Linked DNA regions of Homo sapiens: regions 2 and 3 are each linked to region 1. Evidence: promoter capture Hi-C in 16 types of primary human blood cells and fetal thymus (Javierre and others, 2016). All regions are on one chromosome and are shown on one strand. Each heading gives the region's core, a stretch centred on a gene start or on the middle of the fragment in contact. The rest is flanking DNA. Distances are from core to core; before and after follow the strand shown. Region 1 holds the start of KCNV2 (potassium voltage-gated channel modifier subfamily V member 2). Region 2 has its middle 280 kb from the start of VLDLR. Region 3 overlaps LOC105375955 (a long non-coding RNA gene).

Evidence for each region. Contacts are between HindIII fragments. The CHiCAGO score rates a contact against its expected background, and 5 or more counts as called.
Region 2: a fragment that was not itself captured here is called in contact with the fragment with the promoter of KCNV2 in region 1 in 1 of 17 cell types (endothelial precursors); the score reaches 6.4 in endothelial precursors.
Region 3: a fragment that was not itself captured here is called in contact with the fragment with the promoter of KCNV2 in region 1 in 1 of 17 cell types (endothelial precursors); the score reaches 5.0 in endothelial precursors.

The regions. Positions count from the first base shown.
Region 1 is chr9:2,714,981-2,718,759 of GRCh38, forward strand. It overlaps KCNV2 (potassium voltage-gated channel modifier subfamily V member 2), which reads left to right and starts at 2,530. Exons shown (of 2, transcript NM_133497.4): 1 at 2,530-3,779. The coding sequence starts at 2,760. The HindIII fragment of the contact is 3,823 bases long and covers 621-3,779 here.
Region 2 is chr9:2,339,123-2,342,619 of GRCh38, forward strand. No RefSeq gene overlaps it. Among named protein-coding and RNA genes, the nearest start is that of VLDLR, 280 kb to the right of the region's middle. The HindIII fragment of the contact is 4,203 bases long and covers 1-3,497 here.
Region 3 is chr9:2,293,319-2,296,741 of GRCh38, forward strand. LOC105375955 (a long non-coding RNA gene) reads left to right here. Exons shown (of 4, transcript XR_929426.3): 4 at 3,281-3,423. Among named protein-coding and RNA genes, the nearest start is that of SMARCA2, 280 kb to the left of the region's middle. The HindIII fragment of the contact is 1,600 bases long and covers 860-2,459 here.

The sequences.
Region 1 (3,779 bases), core at 1,280-3,779:
TCTTGTGTGTCAGCCTCCTGAGTAACTGGGATTACAGGCACCCGCCAACATGCCCAGCCCGGCTAATTTTTGTATTTTTAGTAGAGATGGGGTTTCACCAAGTTGGCCAGGCTGGTCTCAAACTCCTTACCTCGAGTGATCCACCTACCTCGGCCTCCCAAAGTGCTAGGATTACAGGCGTGAGCCACCACACCCAGTCTTTACTTTTTATAATAGTATAATTGGTTCTGAAGAGAAAAGGTGAATTTATGCAACATGCAAAATCTATTATGGCAGTACTCAGCACAATATAAAGAAAAGATAGACTTGGAAAGCAATTAAGTGTGTGGCTAGCAAAACAACATCAATATTGTATACCAAAAAGGGAACGCTAGAAATACATTTAGGAACTTAAAGGCTAAGCCTGGTAAGAAGCTTTACCATAAGCTTGTAGGTCTGAGGCCTATTGCAAGCTAAACAACATCAGTGAATGCCACACTAGCAGATGCAGACCTCATAACGTTACCCGTCTCAACAACTTTGAAGCATAGTTAAAACTCAACTAAGTGACAAAGATAGTACCACAAATCAGTGAGGAAATGATGGATTATGCAATTAATGTGTTGAAACATCTGGATAAAAGCTTGGAAAATAAAGTTAGGCCCCTACTTCACTCTTTACATCAAAATTAATTTCTGATGTTAAAACTATAAAAAGAAAAGTTTTATTTACAGAGAGGTGAAGCCTTTTCTAATACTACACAACACCCAGAAATCATAAAATAAAGATTTTTACATGGAAAAAATATTAAAGTTAAAACCGAAAAAAGGTGCAATCCATATCACAAGTAAAGGGTCTTTTTTCATAATGTATTAAGCTCTCCTACAAATCAATAAGAAAAATGTAAACAACTCAGTGGAAAATATAGGCAAAGTCGATGAACAGACAGTTCCCAGAAAAAGAAATAGCTTTTAATCACATGAAAAAGTGTTCAATCACATTTATAAGAAATACAAATTAACCCACACATCATTTTTCACTTACAAAATTGGTAGAGTTAAAAAAGTATAAGACATTTTCAACCGTTGATGAATTGTAAATTGGTAAAACTTTTATGGAGAGAAATGTAGCACTACTAATCAAAATTACAAATGTGCAATCTTTGACCTAGTAATCTCACCTCTAAGAATTTATCCTTTATATATCTTGAACATGTGTAAAGTGATGTACATATAAGGTATTTGTTGCATAATTGTCCATAAAAGCAAAGGTAGAAACATTCTGAATGTCTGTCATTAGGAAAGTGCTCAGTGGCTATTTTTAAAATAAGGTAGATATTTGTGTTCAAATATGAAAACATCTTTTATATGGCCAACTGGAAAAGGCAAAGTATATAGCATTCTATGATTTCTATTAATAATGAAGAGGTACTGAGATGATGGATAAAGGTAGGTATATTTTTGCTTGTATATGTTTAGAATATTTCTGGAAGGATAGCCAAAAGGTAGTAATAGTGGTTGCTTCCTTGAGGTACACCTGATGTCTTGAAATTATGGGTGGGAAAGACATAAACTTTCTACTGTAATATGTCTTTTTACCTTTACAATTTTTTATCATGAATGTGTATTAGCTATGCAAAATAAATTGAATAGAAAAACCAATTCCCTGCTCAAAGCAAATCCCTCCTGCTTCTCTCCTCCCCAGTATTTATTGCATCTTTTGTTATCCTTGCATGTTTATATCCCCAACAAAACCAAGAGTTCTTTGACTGCTACAACTGTGTCTCCATCGTGTTTGCATATCCAGCATTTGCACATTGCCTTAATCATGAAAAGGGTTTTTTTTTTTTTTTTAAAGTGATGTTTTGAAGGATGAAGAAGACCCTTTTTTTTTGGGTGGAAGTCAGGCTCCCTTTAAATATGGCCTAATATTGCTGAGCAGGGTTGTGAGGCCCTAAAAACGTCTTCCTACCATTCCTGGAATTCTACCTTGAAACATGTCTCTATCCTTTAAGAGAAAGGGAGGAGATAAAAAGGAGAGAGAGAAGCTGAAGCTGACTCAAAGATCCGACTGGACCTGAACAGTGCCCCAGGGAGAATCCATTTGAAAAAAAAAAAAAAATGTGATCATGTGAATGGACAAGAAGGAGATGGCTTTAGATCTTATATGCTCTAAACGAAGAGTTACGCTGAGAGGGAAACTGACTTGTCATGAAGTCAGCTTTGTTCCGTTGCTATGTGTCATCCCTGCTAATGGTGAGTTTACCTAGGGCAGAGGCTACCATCTCAACCATGAAGCTGAAGACACAGGCATCCGTATTCTATAGCTAATTCAGTTGATTTCATCTCAGCACACATACACTGAGCGCTTCCTAAGAGCGAGGTTGACCGACATTTTTATTAGCAATAATCTCTGCCTTCTTCTGATTACCTAGAGATTTAAGACCACATAATCATCCTCTACCTCACAGGGTCAAGGGAGTGGGGGAGGAAATGGGCTAAGAGGTTCTAAATCCCTCCTAACACTTGCTTCTTCCAAATCAGCAAGATTAGAGCAGTCAACAGCTGACTGCGTTCAGACCCTGCAGGCTGGGCTGGCCTGCCCAGGACCTGAGAAGGGGCAGCTCCGGTGGCAATGTCTGAGCCCCTAGCTGTGCTGGTCCGGGCTGGCCTCTCTAAGACAGTGCAGGCCACGTGATCCATCCTCCTAGAGGCAGTGAGCAGGTGAGGGACCCCTACCACAGCCAGGAGGAAAAAGCTAGGCGTCCACTTTCCGCAGCCATGCTCAAACAGAGTGAGAGGAGACGGTCCTGGAGCTACAGGCCCTGGAACACGACGGAGAATGAGGGCAGCCAACACCGCAGGAGCATTTGCTCCCTGGGTGCCCGTTCCGGCTCCCAGGCCAGCATCCACGGCTGGACAGAGGGCAACTATAACTACTACATCGAGGAAGACGAAGACGGCGAGGAGGAGGACCAGTGGAAGGACGACCTGGCAGAAGAGGACCAGCAGGCAGGGGAGGTCACCACCGCCAAGCCCGAGGGCCCCAGCGACCCTCCGGCCCTGCTGTCCACGCTGAATGTGAACGTGGGTGGCCACAGCTACCAGCTGGACTACTGCGAGCTGGCCGGCTTCCCCAAGACGCGCCTAGGTCGCCTGGCCACCTCCACCAGCCGCAGCCGCCAGCTAAGCCTGTGCGACGACTACGAGGAGCAGACAGACGAATACTTCTTCGACCGCGACCCGGCCGTCTTCCAGCTGGTCTACAATTTCTACCTGTCCGGGGTGCTGCTGGTGCTCGACGGGCTGTGTCCGCGCCGCTTCCTGGAGGAGCTGGGCTACTGGGGCGTGCGGCTCAAGTACACGCCACGCTGCTGCCGCATCTGCTTCGAGGAGCGGCGCGACGAGCTGAGCGAACGGCTCAAGATCCAGCACGAGCTGCGCGCGCAGGCGCAGGTCGAGGAGGCGGAGGAACTCTTCCGCGACATGCGCTTCTACGGCCCGCAGCGGCGCCGCCTCTGGAACCTCATGGAGAAGCCATTCTCCTCGGTGGCCGCCAAGGCCATCGGGGTGGCCTCCAGCACCTTCGTGCTCGTCTCCGTGGTGGCGCTGGCGCTCAACACCGTGGAGGAGATGCAGCAGCACTCGGGGCAGGGCGAGGGCGGCCCAGACCTGCGGCCCATCCTGGAGCACGTGGAGATGCTGTGCATGGGCTTCTTCACGCTCGAGTACCTGCTGCGCCTAGCCTCCACGCCCGACCTGAGGCGCTTCGCGCGCAGCGCCCTCAACCTGGTGGACCTG
Region 2 (3,497 bases), core at 599-3,098, 380 kb before region 1:
ATGATGTTTAACTTCTCTGGGTCTCAAGATAATAGAGGCTTAATTAGGTGATTGAATAAAGGGCTAGCCAAATGAACTCTTGTTTCCTTTCTAACTACAGACTTTGGTTTTACAAAATTGAACGCAGTTTATGATCTTTTCCTCCAGGAACTTGTCATGCTGGACTCCTATTGATTTCAATAGGGATGGCACCATGTTTGAGAGGCCAAAGAAGAGGCGCAGAGCCAGCAAATGAGGCACGGGTTTTTTTTGAGGGGACTCACATACAGGGCACTCCAGTGGCAGCAGGCTGGACAGGAGAACCACTGCCATTTGTAAAAATCATGCAGTTCATACAACATTTTTGCTTAACATCTTTCCCCTAGCACCTTCCCCCTAGCAACCTTCATTTAACCCAAAACAAAGGGCCTTGATTCCCTGTATGGCCTGCATTCCATGGCTTGGGCCAGGGGTTTAGATGTTCCTCATAGATGAGGAATGAATCTGCAGGTTGGTCACTCCCAGATTCCCCCGCTCGAAACTCCCAACGCACATTATGTTTAGACCATAGGGTCATTCTCAGGGTATCTTAAGTCATTGTTGTCAGGAACATCTGCCAAATTTCTAGACATGACTGAACTTTCGTTTACCTCTAGGAAGCCATAGCGTTTTTTAAAACCCATATTATAGTAGTAAGTATTTTACAAAGCGTTTATTTTTGTTATCTTCACTAGATGAAGTTTTTTGATCACAGAAAATATTCCTATTGTATTCCCAAGACCATGCACAATGCCTAGGGGTGTAATAAGTGTCTATTAGACCTAAGCCACTCTTGTGGCGAGGTGTCTCCCTGTTAGCCCGTTTGGCTCCACTGCCTGAGGACAACCAGTCACAGAGCGTCCAGCTCCTATTGTCACTTCCAGACTCTGATGAAGTACACACTGCAGAGTTTCCCAGACACCTGCTGAAAAGACTAAGAAAAACAACTCAGAAACGAGTCTTTGTAGCAATGTTTTAAGAGTAGCAGATGGGAAGGAGCCATTAGATAAATTCTCCTTTCCTCCCTACAATAGGTTGTTCCAAGGAAAAGCATGTATGGAGGTTTCCTGCATGATTGGGCAGGTGAAGCTGCTGAGTAATTGGCTAAATCTCTTCATGACTCATTGTGAACTATTGTCCAGGTGGTAACACATTACCTTCTATTGCTTACCATCCTTGTGTTTCAACTCTGTATTCCATTATTTTCACTGCCCTGGGCTCCAAATAATATATTCGCACATAATCTTTGGTACAGACTTTGTTTTCTAAGAAACTTAGGCTAAAACAGTTTGTTTCAGAAATGGTTATGGAAAGCAGGCCCTCAGTAAGATTTGGAGTTTGACTGCCCACAGATCAGAAATTAATAAGGACTGCAATGCTGGTAGTAAATGGATTGTTAATAACCCCTGGTATGCAATGATGTTGCAAGTACTTAGGCATTCACTTGCAGCTGGTTGAGGTGAGCTGCATGTGAAAAGCAAGGCATTGAGAGATCTAGTAATTGTGGCATTTCATCAGTATGAGGACAATGATAATTATATATATTTTGGAGTAATGTGACTGTACTGTACTCCTTGCAAAAAGAAAGTGTTTGTCCCAGGGCTTGTAATTGCACACTGTGAAAATCTCTCTTTAGTGTCTTTAAAAGAAACTCTTAGCTTCTTAAATTTCAAGGTAGACTGTGATGAAAATCAGGCCTAGGATCTAATTATAAAGCACAGTTCCTGCAAAGTATGCTTATATAATGTGCACAGGCCTCTTGTGTGAAAATTAGGGCCTTGATTGAAACATAGAATGAGGATATCTGCATGGGTGAACCTGACAATTTTAAACTCCCAAGTTCTTCTGCGCTTTCTCTATAAGCCCAACAGCCCACTTGCCTGGATACCATTCAATGATGCTTATTCTTGTCAGTATCTTCCCTATCACCTCTCATGGTTTCTAGGCCAATAAACAGAGTCAGGAGTCAGCGCAGCCCAAGCGAAAAAGTACAAGCTCTGCTTTTGGAAAAGAATAGTTTACATACTAAGAGAATTATTTGATCTGGCTGATATATACGGACAGGCTCCAGAAGAACACATGATATGAAAATGGATCCTGAGAATGTTGGGCTGAGAGAGAGACGGAGGGAATAGAATATACACTGGATAGAGAAGAATGTATTGATATGGGGAATGCACCATGATTTGAGCTTCAGTGCTTTGGCAAGGATATCTGGAGCTTGTTCAATATTCTGTAGAAAAGGATGTGGAATATTGAACATGATGATGGCTTCTATAAAAATGAAGTTAAAGATGTCCAGATTTCCCTGGTGTCGTGTTAAGGAACACATCAGAATACTTAGGGAAGGGGAGTATCATTAACTTAACCAAGCAATGTCACAATCACAACTTTTAGGCCAGATGTAGTATATTCAGTAGAGAATTTCAACATAGCCTTTGGTCCATAATCTACTGCTATGGATTTAGTGAATGCTTTCTTCTGGATATGCAACAATAGGGAGAATGAAAAGTAGCATGTCATTACATGAAAAGGATATCAGTATATGTTTACTGTATTGCTGTAAGGCTATAATGTAGTCCAGAGAACTTGATCATCTTGACATTCTACAGAACATCACATTGGTCCACTATACTGATAATATCACGTTAAGTGGACTGGATGAACTAGAAGTGGAGCTTACACTAGCTGCCCTAGTAAGAAATATGCATGCCCAAATTTGGGAGACGGGAAAAAAAGGAGATTTAAGAGTCTGCCCCATCAGGGAAGTTTTCAGGTGTCCAGTAGTTAAGGACGTGCCAGGGCATTCATTCTAATGTAAAAGACAAGTTATTGTACCTCTCACTTTCTATCATTTGTGATGAGGCACAACACTTGTATCTCATTCTGGATTTTGGAGGAAGCATATGGTATACTTGGGAATCTTTCTGCAACCCATTCATGGGTTGACTCAGAAGACTTCAAACAAGGCCCAGGGCAAAAATAGGGTTTTGTAACAGCTCTAGACTCAAAAGCTGCAGTTTCAGTGGTGGCTAATTGTTTGGATAGATAGAGGTAACGTATGGAGTTTCTGCAATGCCATTAAAAATGAGCTGTGGGCAGATCCATAGAGTTCTGGAGAATGCCATGCCTTCTTCAGCAGAGAATTATGATGTTTGCAAAACAGCTCCTGGCATTTAAATGTTTCCTACTGGAGACTGCACACCTCATCATGGAGCACCAAGCGCCTCTATGAATGGAGGTGCTCTTTATGGTCTGGATATCACCAGGTCCACTGAACCAAGTAGTAGAGCAGGCACAACAGCAAATCACTGTATAATGAAAGGGGTTTATTGGGGACAAGATTCCAGTACCTCCGAAAGAATGAGTAAATTACAAAATCAGATGGCCCAGATCCCTGTATTAAGTACTTAAGTTACATTGATGCCTCTCCCTCACTCATCATACCTTTGACCAATGAGATTTTTTCCACAATTGAC
Region 3 (3,423 bases), core at 410-2,909, 420 kb before region 1:
TTGTTCTCAGTTTCCACCTACCTCCCAACTCCTAAGCCTTTTCCCCCAGATGTCCATGCCCCAGGCTCTTTAAAATTACTGTTTAGCTGCCATTTACCAAGCTCTGAAATGTCCCATGTGCTATGTGGGTGCTCCATGATGTTCCAAGGGAGCAGTGTTGTAATCCATTTCAAAGGTGAGAAATACATTCTGCCTGAATATCCAGTAGGTGCTGGAGTTTTAATGCAAACTTGGAATTGCCCATTCTTAGAGCCTGTGCTCTTTTTCTCTTGAAGTTTGTACAATGTGAGTTTTTGTAACACAGGGAATGAATAACGCTAAAATACTCACAGGGCACATCTGAGACTTTGCCTGGCAACTTACTAGGATGATAAGCTTCCTTTGTTGAAGTTTCTTTAGATCTCAGATTCCCTAGTTATGAAATAAGTGGGGTTGGACTGGCTGATCCCACTCCAACCTCTTAGAGTCTGTGAGAGCTCAGGACAGAGCAGTTATATTTCTGTTAATCCTGGGAATTCTGCCTCTTAGGCCGGAGTCCTGGAAACTTAGCTATTGGAGAGTAATCCGCTTCAGACAATGAGCCCTCTAAATGAGATTTTTTCAGACTAGATTGTAGTATTTCAGCTCTTTGTTCCCATGAACACACACATGCTTGGAGGTCCATGAGACCAAATCTGTTCTTTGGGAAAGATGATATCCCTCTTTCTTTGGGAAAGATAATATCCCATCTTTGGGAAAGATATCAAATGCAGGAATGTAAGCAATTCCTGCATTTGAAAAAGACCAAATTTGGGGTATGTCCTGGGGGAAACTGTATTTGAAGAAGAAAGTTTATTACAAAGCTTTATGGAAGGAAAGAAGCTTAAGCGGTTCATGTAGATGAGCTCTAAGGCACTGCTGAAATAGGGGCCTAGGAAAGAAAAAGTGATTTAACCTGATCATATGGAACAGAGGTAAAGCAGCAGCACTTTTACTGCCAAGATAGATGAAAGGGATGAAGAGAAAAAAGCCAAGGGCATATTACAGTAGGCTTGATAAATGTCATCCTGAAATCTAACTCAGTATTTGAATGCTATAAATTGTGTTAAGAAATATAAGGCCAAATAAACCTTTGGGACTGTTTGTGACTGATTCAAGGCGACTGAGTTTAAACTGCTGCTGATGAAATGGATGAGGGTAGAATAATGGTATTAGCAATTTAACAAAATCCTAATAAATCAGAGACGAAACTTGATTTAAGTTACACAGAAAGCCTTGCCAGAGCACATGGCCTCAACTCGGCTGAAGCCTGTGATTAGGATGGGAGCTGAAGTTGGAGCATGGAATCGCTGCTATTTTGGATTCACTTCTACATCCTAAGGAGGTTCCATCAAGTGGTAACAGGGAAAGCATCTGCTCTGAATTCACTCACCACATTTGCAAGCCTTGCGTTTTTGTCACATGTGAATCTCACCTGTGTACTCCCATTTTATCAACTCTCTGGTTTGAAATCATCTCATCCATCCCTCAGTTACCACCTTAGGAGCAAAGGTTTCATACCCAGTTAAGAAAGGACCTGGGAAGAAGGTAATAGGAAGTGAATATTTTATCAGCATAAGAAAGAGCTTTCATCTTATTTCTTAACCCCTGAGAGCCCTGTAATGTCAATATTTGTATAAAACATGAAAACAATGTTTGTAACATATATGCATATGAGGGCTAATAATTTAACATACAATTTCTGAAGTGTTCCATCTCCTAGAATGATGGTTGCCCTGGGGCCTTCCAGTCATGAAGCAATGGATTTAAGATCTTCAGGGAAAGGGTGGAGGCCAACTCTAGCAATGGAGTTATTTCTCATCTTTGACTAGCAAATAGGATTTTTGAGTCACTAGCAAGATAATAGTCTTCAAAGTCAGGCTTTGGTGAAGAAAAATAAATTTCTAAATTCCTTGAGCTCCCATTAACATGTCAGGAATCATTGCTGGTGGACTGGCTCATAGAGTTTCTATAAACCTTGATAGAGAAAACTTAGCATATAATGTAAGGGAAGCCTTGGCTACACCGGAAAGGCAGGGAGAAATCTTGCATCTTTAGGGTTGAGGAATTGTGGGAAGAAGAAGATAGGAACCAGGGAACAGCCAAAGAGTTAAACACATGTGTTCACAGTTTCGCTTCTTGGGAGAATCTTGAGTGAATCCAACACTGAGGTTGGTGGCCTGCTACCCTCACTGGAACCTCTGTGCTTTGCAACTGCAGGGGCACCAGTTACATTGTATTCTTTGTGAACGGCCATTCCTGGAGTTTTGTAATGCTGTGGCCCTTTTTTCAAGCAAGGCCTTATGAGGACTTCAGGTCTCTAGGAAAAATCTGGTAGAAGGATATGGGGCAGCACCAGTAGAGGAAAGTGGCTTGAGGGGCGAGCCTCTGGAAGCTCTCTTGGCTCTGCTGAACTTTGGTGTGTTGGGTAAAAGGTCTGAAGCTTGCTTCATGGCCTGGTGAGAACTCACAGAGCTGCCAAGAAGGGCCTGGCATCAGAAATAAGCAACTACCAAGGACAGGAAAGTCAACAACAAATGCCAGCCATGAGCATCAGATGATAAACTTCATGCCACGAGGCCAGGTGAAATTGTCAGAATTGGCAAATGCCAATCCTGAGATCAGATCGACACCCCATGCCAGGTTGGCAGAGAGGGGCAGTACCCAGGCCAGCTTTCTCTCACCACCTCAACCCCCTTCCTATGTCTCCACTCCCCCAGTTATCAGAAATACCCTCAAGCTTTCACCTCCACCCAGAAGCCATCTTGAAAAGCAGGAAGAAGACGGGGGTAAACAGCTCTGTTCAAAGAGTTTAAGTTAAAATTATATGAATGTTTGTTCCCAAAAAAGCATTTGAATATGTAGATACTATTAATTTCCAAATTCTGCCCTTATTCTCACCCCATCTCCCTACTATCTAGCAAGATTGGGAGGGAGACTGGCAGTTAATAAGGAAGACTGGATCAGTTAAAGACTATAAAGAAGCTTGTATTTTGTTTTGTTTTGTTTTTGCCAGCTTAGTGAAGTATGCATTTGCAATCCTGTTCTACCATGTTGGTGCATAGCTCTTAGTCCTTTAGACAAACAGCTCTTAAACAATTCTACTGTGATTTGTCTGAGATTCCTAGAAATCTCCTACCTTCCAAGTAAGGAAGGGATTAATGGCTGAGTACACACACTCTGGGATGGAGTTAAAGCATCAGACTCTTGGGGCTGGAGCCATCTGGGAGACCATCTCATTAATGAAAGGTTTTATTTTCAGACAGAAAACTGCAACCCAAGAAGCTTCTACTTCTTGTCTTCTGGAACTCTATCTGGGGTCTCTGAGTTGCTGAAAAGAAGCCTGACTACCCACCTACACATGCTAGAGAACATCTAGACACTCCATTCCCACCAATGTGTTAA